Linked DNA regions of Homo sapiens: region 2 is linked to region 1. The links are contacts of gene promoters, found by promoter capture Hi-C in blood cells and fetal thymus (Javierre and others, 2016). All regions are on one chromosome and are shown on one strand. The core of a region is centred on a gene start or on the middle of the fragment in contact, and the rest is flanking DNA. Distances in the headings are between cores, read along the strand shown.

What was found. Contacts are between HindIII fragments. The CHiCAGO score rates a contact against its expected background, and 5 or more counts as called.
Region 2: a fragment that was not itself captured here is called in contact with the fragment with the promoter of ZFPM2-AS1 in region 1 in 4 of 17 cell types (M2 macrophages, M1 macrophages, fetal thymus and 1 more); the score reaches 6.5 in M2 macrophages.

What each region holds. Positions count from the first base shown.
Region 1 is chr8:106,059,059-106,062,517 of GRCh38, forward strand. It overlaps ZFPM2-AS1 (ZFPM2 antisense RNA 1), which reads right to left and starts at 1,445. Exons shown (of 5, transcript NR_125797.1): 1 at 1,323-1,445. RefSeq lists an enhancer at 940-2,139. The HindIII fragment of the contact is 2,678 bases long and covers 661-3,338 here.
Region 2 is chr8:104,948,183-104,951,979 of GRCh38, forward strand. No RefSeq gene overlaps it. Among named protein-coding and RNA genes, the nearest start is that of LINC03084, 240 kb to the right of the region's middle. The HindIII fragment of the contact is 5,175 bases long and covers 1-3,797 here.

The DNA of each region.
Region 1 (3,459 bases), core at 195-2,694:
ATTGTCATTTCCTTTATCTTACCTTAAGCTCCACTATGAGAGAAGTGTGAAGAACTTAATAATCACCAGCACCAGAACCTAATTAAGAATGGATTTGAAAGCTATAAAATCATAGCAATATAAGAAAGGAAGAAAGATCCATTTTTATTAAAAGTACATCTTTTTAATAGAAATAAAGAACATATAGCATATGGAATGAGAATACAAAATAAGACAGAAAAAGCTGATTTTAATTGTGCTTAATTAAGAACTGTACATGTGGGATTATGAAAAAGAAAAGAATAGTTGGCTTCAATTACTTTTTGCCAAAAAACAGATAGGATGAAATGTAGCTTTTAAAGTATAAAATTAAATCATTCAAGAGGGGTTGTACTGAGGTAAATTTCATATTTTAAACTTTTGCAGCTGGTAAATAACAATGTTCAAAGGTTTTACTTAAGTTATTTCAAACTCAAATTTCGGAGATCAGGAGGAGTAATGTGTAAGAACTTTTTCCCCCAAAATATTTATGAAGCATCAACTGTGAGCAGTGCCGTATTTCCTGTCTATACTGACAGTCTAATTCAAAACCAAGATATAGTTACCATGAGTGAAACTGCTCCTGTAAACTTTATAAATTCAATCAGGGAAGAAGGGACGGGGAGAAATGAAAATAAAGCAAGCTTGCAGCACACCCAGCATTAATCATTATGTTAGATGCTCTGTGATCCATTCCTCATAGTTGTTTGCCTATTGCCTCCGAATTACATAGACCCTGTTACAAGATTACCGTTCCCCTTCACTGCTCTACAGATAAAAACTTAAAATACCTCAAAGGGAAAACATAAGTTCTATTCTTTCAAGTCCTGCAAGCCCTGTAAAAGAATGAAACTACTGACATCAGCTAGTCTGAAGGACCCCACAAGAAGCTGACTCACCAAAGAATGCAGTTTCTACATCCTCATGATGTCATCCCCCTTACCCCAAATATCAACAATCTCAATGCTCCAACCTCTCACCCTCCATGATCCCATTAAAAACCCCAGCCAAGTGCTCCTTGGGGAGACGAACTTGAGGGTCTCCTCCCATCTCCTCACTTGGTATCCGGTGAGCATTAAACTCTTTCTCTGCTGTAAACTCTGTTGTCTCAGTGTAACTGATCTGTTACTGTACAGTGGTCCTGTGTACTTGCTAGTCCTATAACAGGAAGAGGAGGAAAAAAGAAGGAAAGAAGTAGGAGAAAGAGGAGCAGGAAAAGAAAACATGTTGAGAAGTATTTACTTGCCTCACTTCAAAGAATATCACAGACATTAACAATCTTACACTCTGGAGAAAGTACTTACTCTTTGAGGTTCAAATTCTTTGTTGATAAGATGTGTACAGGAATTTCTGCTGGTGGATTCATTGTAGGAAAAGGTAGAATGCGTACTACATACTGTAAGGAAAACGGATGTGCTGCGGTCAAGAATAGGTCGAAGCAGACATCCGGTCCAGCATGACTCAGTGAGTTTGGAGCTCACTCACACAACTCAGCTCATTAGGTAACCACGCCACGTGAGGCGCATTAGTAACCAGTCACGTGAGCGCGTGCTTGATTCAGAGCCACTGTCGTCTGTAAAAGTTATAACTACACTGCTGATGCTGTACATATGGCTTATGCGCAGAGAGAGAGAAAAGCCATGTCAAAACTGTCTACGATTCCCCCAGTGTTTTTCCGGCTACCCACCACTCACCCACTGACTCCCCTCGGACCTCAGTTAGAACCTGACACATACCTTGAACAATCCTGGGCACATAGAATGTAGGTTTGTGGTTGAATACCCTCACCACCTCCATCTTAGTATATTTAAAGCTAAAGTCACAGCTTTTCTCCTTACATTAAAGCATCCTTCTCTTTTGAATTGTTGCATTCTATTTTATCTGCCCAATATTTCTTAGAGGCGATGTTTTCACTTCTTACCATCACCTCATGAGTTAAAATTTTGATACTTAACTCTTTAGTTATTGTAGTATCTACCTAATTGATGTTTTTCCTTTCTACCTTTGCAAATTGCCTGTTCCAAATATAAGTAGAAACAAGCAAGAAAGAACTCTGAAGGATAATTCATCTCAGCTGGAACCCATGGCCTCATAGGGGCTTCCTTACAATCAACTAACTGAAGGGGAAAAGCCTGAGCTTGGTCCATGGGATCAGTTGGCTGATAGGTTAGTAAAAGTATAAAATGGTATGCCATCACTCCAGCCCCACCCAGGGACTGCCTGAAGACTGGGGGTAAAGGAACATCCTCTCAATGAGCAGAACTGCAAGCAAACCTGGTTATTCATCTTGGCTGCAAAGAAGAGTAATATGAGGTAAAGATATATGGAACTGCTGGGCTTGTCTTCATGGGCAGAAGCCTGGTAGTGGCAAGACTAGAAGAGAGTAAAAATGAAATTTGTGTTGAGGCAAGTTTATGAACCTATTGGAGTAGTACAAAGGGTGTGGAGGATTGCTGGCACATTAATGCCTGTAGGAGAACATCTGCTACATAAGAAGCACTCAACAGCTAGGGAGGAAGGATGACTTATTCTGTGGATATCAGCCAACCTCCTCAACCACCTAGATTATGCACAGTGGATATATGAGCACAAAGTCAGGAATAGAGTCTATGCACAGACCCAAAGCATGGACCTCCTAATGTTGATCTAGCTACTGCTTCTACTGATTATTCTATAAAGAAAATTACATGTATCCCAGATGTAGAGTTGCATTCCTGCCCCCTGCCAGGGTAAAGACTTACAGAGCTTCTGCTCTATCCAGTGGAAGTTACTCTACCACACAAATAACTTAGATGCAATGACATATTGGCTGAGTATGAGGAAAGTCTAGAATGGGTGGTGGAGAAAAGGGATGAGAAGTATCAGCTATAGCATCAGGACCATTTGCAGCAGTGGGACCTCTACCTTTTTCCACTAACTCTTATGGATTAAATTGCATCCTCCAAAAACATATGTCAAAATCCTAATCTCCAGTGTCTTAGAATGTGACCTTACTTGGAAATACAGTTTTTGCAGATTTAATTAGTTATGATGAAATAATACTGGAGTAGGGTGGGCCCTTGATCCAATATAACTGGTGTCCTTATAAGGAAAGGGAAATGTAGACACAGAGACAGAGACGCATGGAGAGGAGAATGCCACGTGAAGACAGACACAGATGGAAGACAGCCATGTGAAGATGGAGACAGAAATTGGAGTTATGCTACCCAAGCCAAGGAATGCCTAGGAGCGGGAAAAGGAAGGAAGGATCATTCTCTGGAGGCTTCCAGAGACAGCACTTTGATTTTAAGATTTCTAGCCTCCAGAATGGAGAGAGAGTAAGCTTCTGTTTTTTTGTGTGTGGGGTGTGTGTGTGTGTGTGTGTGTGTGTCTGTGTGTCTGTGTGGCTGGGGAGGATTGAGGGTTTTTTGTTTTTTGTTTGTTTGTTTGGTTTTTTGGGGT
Region 2 (3,797 bases), core at 884-3,383, 1.1 Mb before region 1:
TTATTGGGCATTTACCATGTACCAAGCTCTGTGCTAGATCCAGGAGATACAAAAGACCCAGCATTCAAAGAGCTTCCAGTCTATTGAAGGAGATGAATATGTACACAATGAGCTAGGTTCATAAAAGGCACCATAAGTCTTTTGACAAACACTAAAAGAGGTAAAAGTATAGTGTCATGCAGGTTGAGGAATTGAAGAGATAACCAGCTTGAAGGGGGTGAGAGTATATTAGGGGTGACTTCATAAAGACCGGTTGTTGAATATGTTAATTGGAAACACTGCTTGTATAAATTGCATTGACTAATGCCTCGTGTATATGTATGTGTGTGTACATGGAAGATACTTGCCTCCCATAGTGGAGCTATTTGATTTGTGTCATGCATGAAACAGCTTTACAGAATGAGGGTCAAACATAGGTATCCACAGCATGAGGTCATTTTCAAAACTCAGTTTTTAAATGAGTAACATACCAATTCACCAATTTTATCTGTATTCATACAAATATAAAAACCATGTTACACAAACTGGGATTTAAAGTTCTCATATGATGAAAAATACACAAACTAAATTTGTTGAGTCTTTTTGGAGCAGAAGTAGTCAGTTCCTAGGAAGTAATTCTTTTTGTGAAAAGTCAGATTTCTCATGAAGTGCTGGTACTATTGGAGTCATAATAAAAAAAATTTACATTTATCTCTGCAACAAGTAAATAGAATAAAATTTCAGGAGAACAAACTTCAAGATAAAAATTTGATTTTTGACATCTTGACTTTATGGTTTAGCTTTCAGTTTAGCTGTAGATTAAAGGACAAAGTCAAGACTTCAACAAATATTTATTTGTTTATTATTTATTTACATTAAAATGGAAAGTTCTTTCCTGTCAAGTTAAGAGCACAGGTTGTGAACTCAGGATGCCTGGATTTGAATTTCATGTTCAGTTTTTACCAGAAATATGACATTGAGCAAGTTCTAACTCTAACCTTCAGTATTTCATTCTGTAAAGTGGAGCTAATAACATCTCAAAAATTGTTGAGAGAATGTGGTAATATACTTTGCATTGTGCCCAGAATTTGGAAAAATGTCAATGAATGTTAGCTGCTGTTGTTATTATTGTTATGATGGTAGCTAACTTTCTTGCAGTAGAGGAATAACAACATTTAACATATAGTAGTAGTTATTATCTATGAGACATTTGTGAGTACGAATATATGAGTATAAAAACCTGTACCCTTAAATTATGCACTGAAACTTTGTATTCTTTTGACTTCATGTAACTGAGAACAAAACTTGAGCTCACCTGAATCCTCTAGACTTTATGAAGTACTGTTAGAAGACACTTGTGACAACAAACAGCACAGAGAACCACATTCCCTGCCTTTAACCTCTGAGTCACAGTTATACAGCATAAATCATACAAACCGTCTCGGACATGTACTATAGCTCAAGTCTCTCCTCCTCAATTATTTTCTTTTAAACTCAATCTGTGAGGAATATTTGGGTAAATAACCTTTCTCCTTGTTTCTGTTACTTTCCACATGTCAAAAATAGAATATGGCCAAACTATTCTTTTCCACATTACTCATTTTAACCAGGAGTGCTCAGAAAAGTTTGGAAATGACTTTCAGAGAAACATTTTTAATTGTTTTTAATTTATCTAAAAACAGGCTAAAAAGTTTAATTAACAGGCTCCAAGTAACAGTTATACCATTTTTCCTCTGCTATCAGCTTTCACTTTTATTTACGATGAGTGTCCCCTTGTGTCTCCTCTACGCCAAGGTCCACTATCACTAATATTTCTGTGATATGTGAATAAACCTAAATGTAAAGTTAGCACTTGCAATCAATGCAAATTAATGATTTTTTTAAAAATTTCAATCAGGAAAAGCAGCTTTGTAGTTGAAAATCCCATGCTGGCCCTAGAGTGGGAGTTTTTCCAGCCTCTGCTTAAATCCAAAAAAATACTGCAATCTTCTGGCACAGGCTCACTGTAATGCTTTAAAAACAATTTAGCAACTGTCATTGCTGTAATTACAGTAACTAATTACCATCCTTAGCAAACAAATAGCTTAACATAATACGCAAGCCGAATCAATTTTGAAGAAATGCAAATTCCAAAAGCGAAAAAGGGCATTTTGGCAAACCTGAAAGAGAAGCAGGAAAATAATACACTTTGTTTTATCTGCACATAATTCCCAGGGAATATCATATCATAAATATTTGCATTCAGTTCTTATCAGGACATTTGCATTTGCTTCTTATCAGCGTGCAGACTGGACTCTGCCAGATAGAGAGGGGAGCGCCACACCATGCACATATTTCTAATGAATCACGTCTCAGGCCCAGAGAATATTTTGGCTGGAACTTTATCACCCAGATGAAGAGGTCATTTACTCTTCGAGTTGGTTCATCTTGGAATTGTCTTGAGATTTTGATGTGATTCACCCGACGCCACATTTATTTATTTCTTTATTTTAGACAAACACTGGAAGCAGTTTTTTTACCAGAATATTTCTTCCAGAGGCAGCTATTCAAAGGACACATTTCCCCTCGCCTGCCACCCCCTCCCCACCCACTCCTCAACTTCTGCAAAAAATAAAATCATGAGTAAATAACAACTGATTCTAATTATTTCTAATTCTGTACCAGGGTTGGCCATCTTTATTTTGTAGGAATCAATAGAGAGAATAAAAGCAACACGTAGAATAAATCAAGCCCTACTCGACCATCATTATCTGGAAATTTAGGGCCAAATCCTGTTGTAGTTCTCCAGGAGCACATTTGATCCTTAGTAAGGGTCTTCCTTAGTAAGAGGAGGCAGTGTTGCTGGCCCGGAAGCACCTTACTAATGAGACCATCAGATTCCTCTAACAGTTTATCCAGATAAATCAATTTCTCATCTTATGATGAGTAACAGTGCATCTTACCCATGAGCACACATAAGGTCGATAAGGGAGCTGATAGCAGCTTCTCATATGTGAATGAGAATTCCGTCTTTTTTAACTCTTGAATTATCATCTGACATGACACCCAGCATGCATTGGCTTGCTGCGCCTGAACATAAAGCACTCAAGCAGTCTATTTTGTTTTGGCGAGAGAAGCAGAAATATTATTCATCTTGATTGGATCCTTTCTGTTGGGTCTTGCTGTTTAATTAAACCAGATCTGTGTTTTAGCTCTTTGGTAACATGGGGTTCAAATAGACAGGGATATTATATCCTTATGTAAAACAAGGGCCGGTTGGTGTCCAAGAATCATGGCTATGCAAGTAAAGATTTCTACAGGCGTGCTATTATTACACAATTTCCCCTGTAATTTTATCATCTACTTGATATTATTGCACAAATTCTGAGGTCAAACTTCAAAGTAAAACTCTGGATGGGATCAATCTGAGTACCAGGAATTCAATTTCCAATTATAAATTAAAATATAGGTATAATGGGAAAATTTCTCATTTATAATAGTAGCAAAAATGCATTTAATTGTGCTTCATAGTGATTTTATTCATGAATATGGTCACTTAAACTTAATTTCACCTTTTGCCCAAGTAGAATTTCACTTTGATTTATTTGTTTAACATAAAAAGAGAACTTCTGGCTTATTATGATTCAAATGATTGACACATCTCTATTGGAATCCAGAAAATGCTATTTAAAATCTTATAAGAACATAAACATCTCATGAAACTTTATTCCAATAACAGTAAAAGAAGTTTCTGTCAAATTATTTGTTTTAATTATACTTTTTCTTAAAAAAATCGTAGCTTTTTATTTTTCCCTGAATAGTGGTAACATAGGTATTTG